2 separate regions of the Homo sapiens genome follow, and region 2 is linked to region 1. Evidence: promoter capture Hi-C in human tissues and cell types (Jung and others, 2019). All regions are on one chromosome and are shown on one strand. Each heading gives the region's core, a stretch centred on a gene start or on the middle of the fragment in contact. The rest is flanking DNA. Distances are from core to core; before and after follow the strand shown. Region 1 holds the start of DNAH5 (dynein axonemal heavy chain 5). Region 2 overlaps DNAH5 (dynein axonemal heavy chain 5).

The links. Contacts are between HindIII fragments. The study calls those that stand out against the background at their distance.
Region 2: a contact is called between a fragment that was not itself captured here and the fragment with the promoter of DNAH5 in region 1, in 2 of the 25 tissues and cell types used here (small bowel and stomach).

What each region holds. Positions count from the first base shown.
Region 1 is chr5:13,942,119-13,948,906 of GRCh38, forward strand. DNAH5 (dynein axonemal heavy chain 5) reads right to left here and starts at 2,570. Exons shown (of 79, transcript NM_001369.3): 1 at 2,264-2,570. The coding sequence starts at 2,320. The HindIII fragment of the contact is 17,200 bases long and covers 1-6,788 here.
Region 2 is chr5:13,851,870-13,858,794 of GRCh38, forward strand. The region is part of intron 30 of DNAH5 (dynein axonemal heavy chain 5); the gene reads right to left. Among named protein-coding and RNA genes, the nearest start is that of DNAH5-AS1, 5.1 kb to the right of the region's middle. The HindIII fragment of the contact is 3,933 bases long and covers 528-4,460 here.

The DNA of each region.
Region 1 (6,788 bases), core at 1,320-3,819:
TGAATATATACAGAATAATTTCAAGTTTTTAAATGAAAATAACGTGTGTTTATTATACAAGAGAAAAGATATATGGCTTGACTTTGTTTATGGTACATTTGGTTGTTACTGGCATGATATTTATGGATAAAGTCAATTATTACATTACAGTAGCCTAATTATAACATAGCATCATTGCAATAATAGTTCCAGACCTTAGCGTGGAACTTAGTTAAATATATATGGACTTGTAGTTAAATACATACATACTTATAGTTAGGTAGCTCTGGAATGTTTCCCATTGGTCATTTTCGATCATGAAGTTATAATATAATAAGCTATCTTATCAGTTGACAAACTTTCCTTGCTTGGCCAAACTTTAGTCAGGTTCCTGAATCTTCTCCTAGGCCCATCTGTACACTTCCTTGTAAAATCTAGTTTTAGCAAAGAACTCTGCTAAGTCAGTTAACAAGAACCCCTGTAGAGGGTACTCAATATCTGATCACCGTCAGTCGCTGATTGGGTTCCTCATCCTCCACCATCCCCCACGTGCTGTCTCATCCCCCTGGCCTTTCTTCAGCAAGAATCCTGGTAGGTCGTCAGTTTAGCCAGAATCCCCCTCCCCATTGATGTCTCCTCTAAGCACTTTCCTATCCACTGACCCCTGCCCTGCTCCTTGGCTACAAATCCTCACTTGGCCATGCCATATTCACAGTTGAGCCCAATCTCTCCCATCACTCCCCAGATAGGTCCTTATACCTAACACGACGGTCGTGAATAAAGTCTTACTTTACCATGCTTTACCAAGTGTCACTGAATAATTTTTTTTCTTTAACACAGTGCACTAAGTAGAAACTGTGTAATTATTTACATAATACACTGCAATACTATTAAGGTAATTCTGTTAATATTATACTTCAGTGGAGTGAACCAAACCAGCATCCTAAATATATAATTGAAACCTCCAAAAGACTTGACTTACTCTCAAAACATAGTTCATGTCAAGGAAGAATAATTCATTAATTATACCTGAGATTTTATCATCAATTGTGGTGTTTCAGACTTGGTACTGAAGCACAGGAAAAATGTTCAGACATGTGAAATGTTTAATTCATTCAACTTATTCCACAAGCATATATTAAGGACCAAGCATATACTATGGACCAAGCTCTGTGTTAAAGGAAGATTATTTTAAAATGGAGAGAACTCGCAATCTAGCAAGAGAAAGAGACATGTGGGTAAATGTCATTTCACTACAGTGATGTGACAAGGACTCTATAAGACATCGAAGGAAAGTGCTGACAGGGTACAGGAAGGAAACTCACACCTCCTCCTCAAAGTGTCAGGGGACGCTTCTCAGAGGAGGTAACACTAGCACTTGGTCTTGAAGAATAAGCAGTGCATGGACTGGCTGGAGTCAGCTCTTCCAGAATGGTCTTCTAACTCTAGCAAGCAAGTTCAGGGGCTTGGCTGCAAGACGTTCACCTTGGGAAGGATGCATCAGAATCTTGTGGCTTGGGCAAGTGAGGGGTGGCAGATGGTGGCATACTTAAAAAATTCAGAGGTAGATGCCTGCTCTTTTGTGGTAAAAACAACAGGCTAGGGGGGATCATGTGAGCTTCTGGGGATACACAAAAAGACACAGTGATCAAGCCCAGTAGGAAGCATGGGTTAATGGTTGAGAACTGAGTCCTAGAGAAACCTCCAATTTCTTCTGACGTTAATTGGCAGTGGAAGAGGTTTCCAAATCCCTCTCTATGCATTTGCATAATAAAAAGCTGCTGAGCTGAGCCCTGTGCTAGGGAAGTTCATTCTTCAATGTGATTTCCAAAGGCACAGCCTTGCATCTCACTGTCTGTGACCTCATTTGCAGGCATATAGAACAGGGGAGTGATTTCAAAGCCTAAACCTTGCAGCCTAGAATCTGCCTTAACTATTTCTAATCACCAACTAAAGTTTACAGGTTTGAAAGAATACAAAGTGCCCAAACCACTATGAATGTGTTTTTGACCCCAGGAAAGCATCTTCCCAAAAGATGCAGCATGAATTTCTAGGTGCGTAGTTTAAGCGGCAACGTGCAGAAAAGCCTACAGATGCAAAATTTTTTTTATTTAAAAAATGAATATGTAGCCTATGCACCAGGTGAACATTAGTTAAAAAATGTGTTTCTCGCAAATTCATCAGTGTGTGACTTTGAACCTTTTTCAAGTTTGTTTTTTCCACCCAGGTGTGACAGATGATAATCCAAAACACACATGCAAAGGTACAGACAACAGCACCTTACCGTTAAAACTCGAGTGACGCTATGCTTCCAGAGCTGTCTCCTCCCAATCCTAAACATTGTAGCCGTGCATGGACAGGCTGGAGTCAGCTCTTCCGGAATGGTCTTCTAACTCCTGGCAGACCTGCTCAACATCCAACAGGCTTCCAAATGGAAAGTTTTACTTCCATTTTACTTTCACGTTTCTAATTTGCATGTATTATTCACTACATTCACAGAATAAAAATTAAAACTCCACTTATACCACTCAAGTTTTTCTCCTAGAGTGTCTGCCCTGGGCCTCTCCTCTCTCTCGAAGCCTGGTGTTGTTAGGGTAATATTGTTTATACACTATACAGTTGAACCATGCCTCTTAATCATGTTTATCAAGCAATCAAAGCATTTTAACTGCTCGGTAGCAACACAACTCCTTCTGTTGTTCAATTAATTCTATTCACTGCCCAATAATAAGCATTGAGTCAACAGTGATATCTAAATAGTTTCTTTGAACAATGAGAAACTTTAAACCATATCAGATTAGAAATCCAAGAAGCCACAGCTCTGAATATATTGTCCATGTCGAGAAACTCAGTCTTACTTTGTGTAAACAACTTTGCAAGCACGATGCACTGCCAGCATTGTGACTAATTGTGACTAATTGCCAGATAGGCTAATTGTGACCCATAGGAGCCATTTTCTCCACCACAAAGAACAAGAAGTCTGTTTCATATGCAAATAGCAAACCATGTCCATAAATTACTTGTGCTCACACAGTTGCACATACACTTCAGCCAAGGTAATTTATCCTATGTGGCTAAACATCTTGATCATCTTAACTGTGAAGATGTAATGGGAAAACACTGCCAAATGCTTTGAGAGATCTCTCATGTATGGTTTCTCCCATCGAGTTGAATAAAAGGCAGGACACTTAAGGTTGGTCTTGTTGAATCTAGAATTTAGTCCTTGGAATTCACAGTCCAGCAACTCAAATCCTAAAAGGTCATCCAAGGATAATCAGGAAATTGGGAACTCATCCTGGTAACATCCTGCTAGTCAACCTCTGTGGAGCCTGACTTGGAAGGCAGGGTGCTGACATGGTTTCAGAACATGGAGATTCACTTGGTCCATATCCAATGCTAGGGCACGGACGGCCTCCATATGTCAGGTTAACAGACAACATTTAGACCTCAATATTATTTGGTAAGTAAATAACTAGAACACAGGAAGTTTAAGTTTGTTTGCAGGATTTTTTTTTTCTTTTTTGAGACCTGCAGGTCTCACTCTGTCACACAGGCTGGAGTGCAGTTGCGTGACCACCACTCACCACAGCCTCAACCTCCCAGGCTCAGGTGATCCTCCCACCTCAGCCTTCCTAGTAACTGGGACTACAGGCAAGTGTCACAACACGCGGCTAATTTTTGTATTTTTTGTAGAAACAGGTTTGGCCACATTGCCCAGGCTGGTCTCAAACTCCTGGCCTCAAGCAATTGCCCACCTCGGCCTCCCAAAGTGCTGGGATTATACGCATGAGCCACCAGGCCAGGCCCTGCAGGATATTTGTTGAAGTCAACCTCTGGTTGTTGGTAAGCGGCTGTTGTCCGTTTCTAATAAAAAGTGTTGAAGACAGTATCTAGACTCTGAGTCCCTTCTCTGTGTGGTGCTGAAGACACCAGAAAATAGCAGTAGGATCGGATCCTCCTCACATGGCATCTCCTATCCATCCCAAGAATCCTCTGTCAACACATGACCTCAGGACAAACATGTTACAATTCATTACATCGCCGATTATCTTTCATTAGTTACATTTGAATCGGTGCTTCCCTAATGGTATTTTAGGCACCATCCTCATTGCAGCAGCAGCCCATTTACAACGCATCGCTTGGGGAGAGTTACTTCCTGGGAAGATTTCCACAGATGGCTGATGGCATGCATTTTGTGTTTGGCAGGCATAACCATGACTCCCTTGAGGCTTCACAGCAAACCGGGAAGCCTTCCAGTCTGTGTGGCTGAATTTCAACCCCTCGGGCAAGGTAGATGGCGTCTTAAGGTATCTTCTTGAGCGCTCAGGCTCACTGGAAGTTGTTGAACAACACAAACAAAGCAAGCCAAGGCTGAATTTACAACAGGCCACCTACCCCCGCCAGCCCCTGCCAGAATGAAAGTCAATTTCTGGCATTTGGAGGGAAATGATCAAACATTGTTCGGTAGGAAACTCAGAAAGGCTTGCCTACAAATAGTTTCCACCAGGCAAGAGCTTCAGCTGGCAGGGCTCTATATATAGGACTCACACGAGGGAGGTCTGCAGCCCCGTCTGTGCGGATAGTACACCCTTCCAGGCTGAAAATATTGGTCATACACAAATCCTGTCAGACATAATGGGAAAACAAGAGTAGACAATGGACCTCATGTGGGCGGAAGGCTTCATCCAGAAATCCAAGTACCTGCAGGCAAAGTTTGAAGTTCCACTTTCATTCATTGAACAAAAGCTCGTGAGTGCCTTTTACGCAGCCAGACGCTGCGCTATACACTATGAATAGAACAGCTAATAAAAACAGATGTTTACTCAGACATTTAAAAATATTAATTGTAGAATGCATAATTATCCTATGCAACACTCGGAATGAAAAAATAATGCTGCCTATTCAACATATCCATTTTAAGGTGCATTCTGATTTCACAGATGTTAAAATATGAAAAATGTACATTTCATAATCAATAAAAAATGGTTATTCTTGCCTTTACTGGGGGTAGATATTAAGCAAATATATAAATAAATGTATAATGACAAGTAAAATGTTACAAATTTTGATAAGTGTCATTTTAAAAGAAAATAAGGTATAAGCTTTATGTGGACATATGTTCTGAATTGTTACCTTTACGCTTACATTCCAAAGTGTAAAATTTTCTAAACTCATCTCTAAATTATGGAGTCATCTACCCTGCATCTTGAAGCCTCGTATGTACATCCCGTTCCATATGGCTTAATAGAAAAGTGCAACTTTGGGGTCAGACAGACCTGAACTTAAATCCCAGCTATGTGACATCAGATATTTTGTCTCCTAAATTAGACGTTAGAAATAAAACCACTTACCTAAAACTGGTAATGATTTAAATATATTTAAATCTCCTAGATCCTCATAGGCACCTAATAAATGAAATATATAACCACATTTTTTATCTGCAAAAGAGTTATGACTACCATTTATGGCAATATCAATGGAGAGGACGAATTCCTAAATCTTAACCTAACCCACACATTTCAGTCGAGAGCTGGTTGAAAATTTTGCTCTCAATTTCTGAGTATGTCCTAGCAAAAGAGTGGATCCAAGTTTTATCAGTTACTAGCTACACGTTTTTCATGGATTTCCATCTTTAAGAATGTCTTACTGAGGCCCAACAGGATCAAACACATTCATCAGTTTAATAGCCTTGTAAACAATGATACAAACTACAGCATATAAAAATGGCAAATGAGTTCAGTGGGATGAGAGAGTTCCATATTTCACCCATCAAGCGCTGCACATTTGTCTTCACGCTTTACCATATTGAAATGTGGTCATTCCAAATGCAACATGATATTTCATCTTATATTCAATGCCCTCTTATAATTGCTGTTGGCCAGACAAAAATCATGACATGAGTGTCCTTACCAGAGCTTGTGCACACCCAGCTGTCACCCAAGTGGCACCACAAGGCCACAACAATACCAGGAAGTTACAGCCAACAAACCACAGAAGCTCCATGTGAGGAAGAAATGTGTGTCCCGGTTGTTTTCTAGAAATCTTCACTGTCACCTTCTGGGAAGATCCAGAAAACACCAGCACTGCAACTTGCAGGAAGGATGTTAGTAGATTGGAAGAAAATCCCAGAAGAGTCAGACCCTACATGTGAAGAAGTTTTAGAAGTTTCTTAACTAATTCATTGCACTTATCTTTGTATGGATGCATGGGGGTGATGTTTAAAAGAGCTTCAATTAAAATAAAATTGAAATTCTAAGAAAGCAATGAAGCCTAGTTTAATGGACAGGTGTTTTTCCTTCTTGGTGGTTAATGACACAGTAATGTGTTTCATCTGATAATGGATTAGGTCAGATGAATACAGTTTTGTGAGTTCTAATGATCAAAGGAAACTTTTGGAGAAGGGAGAATTTAAGGCAAGCCCTATAGAAGAATAAGATTCAAATTAGTAGATAGGAAAACTAGAGTGTAACATATGTGAAAAATTATCTTGGAGACTGGAATTCAACAGAGCCCGTCTTGTGCTGCAATTTTAAGTAAAAATGATTGATTAATCTCTGAAAGGTATGTTGAGGCTGAATGGTGGGCGTCAATCTAAGGTAGTGGGCCTTGCAGGCAATTAAGGAGTCACTGAATTAATGAAAGTCTTGTTTAGGAAGGTTATGCTGGTATTATAGCTGCACGCCGGTAAGGATGAAGTAGAGAGAGACTGAAGGCAGTCTCCTGGGCATGAAGAAATAAAGAATTCAATAGAGGGAGGTGGAAACTGTGGTCACCCAAACAACCTAAAAATGAATAAACTCGCAAGCTGA
Region 2 (6,925 bases), core at 1,244-3,743, 90 kb before region 1:
GTACCTGGCTCATCTCATTGGGACTGGTCAGACAGTGGGTGCAGCCCACGGAGGGCAAGTAGAAGCGGGGTGGGGCGTTGCCTCACCTGAGAAGTGAAAAGGTTTGGGGAACTCTCCCCCGAGCCAAGGGAAGCCATGAGGTACCATGCTGTGAGGGACACTGCTATCTGGCCCAGATACTATGCTTTCCCCATCTGCAGACCAGGAGATTCCCTCAGGTGCCTACCCCACAAGGGCCTGGGTTTCAAGCACAAAATTCGGTGGCCGTTTGGGTAGACACTGAGCTAGCTGCAGTTTTTTTTGTTTTTTGTTTCTGTGATGGAGTTTCGCTCTTTTTGCCCAGGCTGGAGTGCAACGGTGTGATCTCAGCTCACTGCAACCTCCGCCTCCCAGGTTCAAGCGATTCTCCTGCCTCAGCCTCCTGAGAAGCTGGGATTACAGGCATGTGCCACCATGCCTGGCTAATTTTGTATTTTTAGTAGAGATGGGGTTTCTCCATGTTGGTCAGGCTGGTCTCGAACTCCCGACCTCAGGTAATCTGCCCACCTCAGCCTCCCAAATTGCTGGGATTACAGGCGTGAGCCACCACGCCCAGCCAGTTTATTTTTTTTTTCGTACCCTAGTGGCACCTGGGATGCCACTGAGGCAGAACCATTCACTCCCCTGGAAAGGGGGCTGAAGCCAGGTAGCCAGGTGGTCTTGCTCAGTGGATCCCATCCCCACAGAACCCAGCAAGCTAAGATCCACTGGCTTGAAATTCTCACTGGCAGCACAGCAGTCTGAAGTCGACCGGGAATGCTCCAGCTTGGTGGGGGGAGGGGGGTCCACCATTACTGAGGCTTGAGTAGGCGGTTTTTCCCTCACAGTGTTAACAAAGCCGCAAAGAAGTTCAGACTGGGCAGAGCCCACTGCAGCACCACAAAGCTGCTGTAGCCAGACTGCCTCTCTAGATTCCTCCTCTCTGTGCAGGGCATCTCTGAAAAAAAGGCAGCAGCCTCAGTCAAGGCTTATAGATAAAACTCTCATCTCCCTGGGACAGAGCGCCTGGGGGAAGGGGCAGCTGTGGGGTACAGCGTCAGAAGACTTAAACATTCCTGCCTGCCAGCTCTGAAGAGAGCAGCAGATCTCCCAGCACAGGGCTCGAGCTCTGCTAAGGGACAGACTGCCTCCTCAAGTGGGTCCCTGACCCCGTGCTTCCTGACAGGGAGACACTTCCCAGCAGGGGCCAACAGACACCTCATACAGGAGAGCTTCAGCTGACATCTGGCAGGTGCCCCTCTCAGACAAAGCTTCCAGAGGAAGGAGCAGGCAGCAATCTTTGCTGTTCTGCAGCCTCCGCTGGTGATACCCAGGCAAACAGGGTCTGGATTGGAACCCCAGCAAACTCCAGAAGACCTGCAGAAGACGGGCCTGTCTGTTAGAGGAACACTAACAAACAGGAAGCAATAGCATCACCATCAACTAAAAGGACGACCACACAAAAACTCCATCCGAAGGTCACCAACAGCAAAGACCAATGGTAGATAAATACACGAAGATGAGGAAAAACCAGCACAAAAAGACTGAAAATTCCAAAAACCAGAATGCCTCTTCTCCTCCAAAGGATAACAACTCCTCGCCAGCAAGGGAACAAAACTGGACAGAGAATGAGTTTGACGAATTGACAGAAGTAGGCTTCAGAAGGTGGGTAATAACAAACTCCTCCAAGCTAAAGGAGCATGTTCTAACCCAATATAAGGAAGCTGAGAACCTTGATAAAAGGTTAGAGAAATTGCTAACTAGAATAACCAATTTAGAGAAGAACATAAATGACCTGATGGAACTGAAAAACACAGCACAAGAATTTCGTGAAGCATACAGAAGTATCAATACCCAAATTGATCAAGCAGAAGAAAGGATATCAGAGATTGAAGATCAATGTAATGAAATAAAGCGTGAAGACAAGATTAGAGAAAAAATAATGAAAAGGAATGAACAAAGCCTCCAAGAAATATGAGACTATGTGAAAAGACCAAACCTACATTTGATCGATGTACCTAAAAGTGATGGGGAGAATGGATCCAAGTTAGAAAACACTCTTCAGGATATTATCCAGGAGAACTTCCCCAACCAAGCAAGACAGGCCAACATTCAAATTCAGGAAATACAGAGAACACCATGAAGATTCTCCTCAAGAAGAGCAACCCCAAAACACATAATCATCAGATTCACCAAGGTTGAAATGAAGGAAAAAATATTAAAGGCAGCCAGAGAGAAATGTCGGGTTACCCACAAAGGGAAGCCCATTAGACTAACAGTGGATCTCTCTGCAGAAACCCTACAAGCCATAAGAGAGTGGGGGCCAATATTCAACATTCTTAAAAGAATTTTCAGCCCAGAATTTCATATCCAGCCAAACTAAGCTTCATAAATGAAGGAGAAATAAAATCCTTTAAAGACAAGCAAGTGATGAGGGACTTTGTCAGCACCAGGCCTGCCTTACAAGAGCTCCTGAAGGAAGCACTAAATACAGAAAGGAAAAACCAGAACCAGCCACTGCAAAAACAAACCAAAATGTAAAGACCATTGATATTATGAAGAAACTGCATCAACTAATGGACAAAATAACCAGCTAGCATCATAATGACAGGATCAAATTCATACATAACAATATTAACCTTAAATGTAAACGGGGTAAATGCCCCAATTAAAAGACACAGACTGGCAAATTTAATAGAGTCAAGATCCATCAGTGTGCTGTATTCAGGAGACCCATCTCACGTGCAAAGACACACATAGGCTCAAAATAAAGGGATAGAGGAATATTTACCAAGCAAATGGAAAGCAAAGAAAAAGCAGGGGTTGCAATCCTACTCTCTGATAAGACAGACTTTAAACCAACAAAGATCAAAAAAGACAAAGAAGGGTATTACATAATGGTAAAGGGATCAACGCAATGAGAAGAGCTAACTATCCTAAATGTATATGCACCCGAAACAGGAGCACCCAGGTTCATAAAGCAAGTTCTTAGAGACCTACAAAGAGACTTAGAATCCCACACAATAATAGTGGGAGACTTTTTTTAACATGTTAAAGAAATGTTTAATTACAAAATTAAGCTTACACATAACCTAAAAATTTTCAAATGTACTGCATTTTATAGCATAAAAGTACAATCAGTAAAATGATTCACTAGTAATTTAATTACATTTAACTTAATTTTAAGTAAAATAAAAAATGCTTCTCTCTCACTATGATGCAGAATATTACTCTGAACACCTACCTCATGCATCACTCAATATGAAAAGTAAACTAACAAGAACCACTCCACATAGATTTTCATCATAAATCTTACATTTTTTTTTTTTTTTTTTTTTTGAGACGGAGTCTCGCTCTGTCGCCCAGGCTGGAGTGCAGTGGCGGGATCTCGGCTCACTGCAAGCTCCGCCTCCCGGGTTCACGCCATTCTCCTGCCTCAGCCTCCCAAGTAGCTGGGACTACAGGCGCCCGCCACTACGCCCGGCTAATTTTTTGTATTTTTAGTAGAGACGGGGTTTCACCGTTTTAGCCGGGATGGTCTCGATCTCCTGACCTCGTGATCCGCCCGCCTCGGCCTCCCAAAGTGCTGGGATTACAGGCGTGAGCCACCGCGCCCGGCCATAAATCTTACATTTTAATGCCCATACTCTTCAATAGTGGGAGACTTTAACACCCCACTCTCAATATTAGTCAGATCAATGTGACAGAAAATTAACAAGGATATTCAGGACTTGAACTCAGCTCTGGACCAAGCGGACCTAACAGACATCTACAGAACTCTCCACCCCAAATCAACAGAATATACAATCTTCTCAGCACCACATCATACTTATTCTAATATCGACCACATAATTGGAAGTAAAACACTCCTCAGCAAATGCAAAAGAATGCAAATCATAAAAAACAGTCTCTCAGACCACAGTGCAATCAAATTAGAACTCAAGATTAAGAAACTCACTCAAAATTGCACAACTACATGGAAACTGAACAACCAGCTCCTGAATGCCTACTGGGTAAATAATGAAATTAAGGCAGAAATAAATAAGTTCTTTGAAACCAATGAGAACAAAGACACAGTATACCAGAATTTCTGGGACACAGCTAAAGCACTGTTTAGAGGGAAATTTATAGCACTAACTGCCCACAGGAGAAAGTGGAAAAGATCTAAAATCAACACTCTAACATCACAATTAAAAGAACTAGAGAATCAAGAGCAAACAAATTCAAAAGCTAGCAGAAGACAAGACATAACTAAGATCAGAGCAGAACCGAAGGAGATAGAGACATGAAAAACCCTTCAAAAAAATCAATGAATCCAGGAGCTGGTTTTTTGAAAAGATCAACAAAACAGATAGACTGCTAGCCAGACTACTAAAGAAGAAAAGAGAGAAGAATCAAATAGATACAATAAAAAATGATAAAGGGGATATCGCCACTGATCCCACAGAAATACAAACTGCCATCAGAGAATACTATAAACACCTCTATACAAATAAACTAGAAAATCTAGAAGAAATGGATAAATTTCTTCTAGAAATTCTACCAGAGGTTCAAAGAGCAGCTGGTACCATTCCTCTTAAAACTATTCCGAACAATAGAAAAAGAGGGACTCCTCCCTAACTCATTTTATGAGGCCAGCATCATCCTCATACCAAAACCTGGCAGAGACACAACAAAAAAAGAAAATTTAGGCCAATATCTCTTATGAACATCAATGCAAAAATCTTCAATAAAATACAAGCAAACCGAATCAAACAGCACATTAAAAAGGTTATCCACCACAATCAAGTCAGCTTCATCCCTGGGATGTAACGCTGGTTCAACATATGCAAATAAACATAATACCTCACATAAACAGAACCAATGAAAAAACCACATGATTATCTCAATAGATGCAGAAAAGGCCTTTGATAAAATTGAACATCCTTTCATGCTAAAAACTCTCAATAAACTAAGTATTGATGAAACACAACTCAAAATAATAAGAGCGATTTATGACAAATCCACAGCCAATATCATACTGAATAGGCAAAAGCTGGAAGCATTCCTTTTGAAAACCGACACAAGACAAGGATGCCCTCTCTCACCACTCCTATCCAACATAGTATTGGTAGTTCTGGCCAGGGCAATCAGGCAAGAGAAAGAAATAAAGGGTATTCAAATAGGAAAAGAGGAAGTCAAATTATCTCTGTTTGCAGATGACATGATTGTATATCTAGAAAACCCCATTGTCTCAGCCCCAAAACTCCTTAAGCTGATAAGCAACTTCAGCAAAGTCTCAGGATACAAAATCAATGTGCAAAAATCACAAGCATTCCTACACACCAATAATAGACAAACAGAGAGCCAAATCGTTAGTGAACTCCCATTCACAATTGCTACAAAGATAATAAAATACCTAGGAATCCAATTTACAAGGGATGTGAAGGACCTCTTCAAGGAGAACTACAAACCACTGCTCAAGGAAATAACAGAGGACACAAACAAATGGAAGAACATTCCATGCTCATGGATAGGAAGAATCAATATCATAAAAATGGCTATACTGCACAAAGTAATTTATAGATTCAATGCTATTCCCATCAAGCTACCATTGACTTTCTTCAAAGAATTAGAAAAAACTACTTTAAATTTCATATGGAAACAAAAAAGAGTCCATATAGCCAAGACAATCCTAAGCAAAAAGAACAGAGCTGGAGGTATCACGCTACCTGATTTCAAACTATACTTCAAGGCTACCGTAACCAAAACAGCATGGTACTGGTACCAAAACAGATATATAGACCAAGGGAACAGAACAGAAGCTTCAGAAATAACACCACACATCTACAAACATCTGATATTCGACAAACCTGACAAAACAAGCAATAGGGAAAGGATTCCCTATTTATTAAATGATGTTGGGAAAACTGGCTAGCCATATGCAGAAAACTGAAACTGGACCCCTTCCTTACACCTTATACAAAAATTAACTCATGGTGGATTAAAGATCTAAACATAAGACGTAAAACCATAAAACCCTAGAAGATAACCTAGGCAATAACATTCAGGACATAGGCATGGGCAAAGACTTAATGACTAAAACACCAAAAGCAATTGCAACAAAAGCCAAAACAGTGTGGTGATTCCTCAAGGAGCTAGAACTAGAAATGCCACTTGACCCAGCAATCCCATTACTGTGTATATACCCAAAGGACTATAAATCAATCTACTATAAAGACATATGCACACGTATGTTTATTGCAACACTGTTCACAAAAGGAAAGACTTGGAACCAACCCAAATGCCCATCAATGTTATACTGGATAAAGAAAATGTAGCACATATACACCATGGAATACTATGCAGCCACAAAAAAGGAGGAATCCATGTCCTTTGCAGGGACATGGATGAAGCTAGAAACCATCATTCTCAGAAAACTAGCACAGGAATGGAAAACCAAACACTGCATGTTCTCACTCATAAGTGGGAGTTGAACAATGAGAACATATGGGCACAGGGAGGGGAACATCACACACTGGGGCCTGTCAGGGGGTGTGGGGCAAGGGGAGGGATAGCATTAGGAGAAATACCTAATGTAGATGACAGGTTGCTGGGTCCAGCAAACCACCATGGCACCTGTATTCCTATGTAACAAACCTGCACATTCTGCACATGTATCCCAGAACTTAAATATAATTTAAAAAAAAAATCCAAACCTCCTACTTAAAACCTTTAAGAAAAGAAGATGAAAAACATGCACAAATACAAATCAAAAATAAAGTAAAATTTTAGTGAGTGAATACATTTCACTATTGCCTCCAAAATAAATGGTCTGCAGTCTGATTTTATCTGTCATCTGTAATTAAACTGAAAACTAACCAAAAAAGAAGTTCAGAAACCTATGTGATGAAAACATTTAAAATAA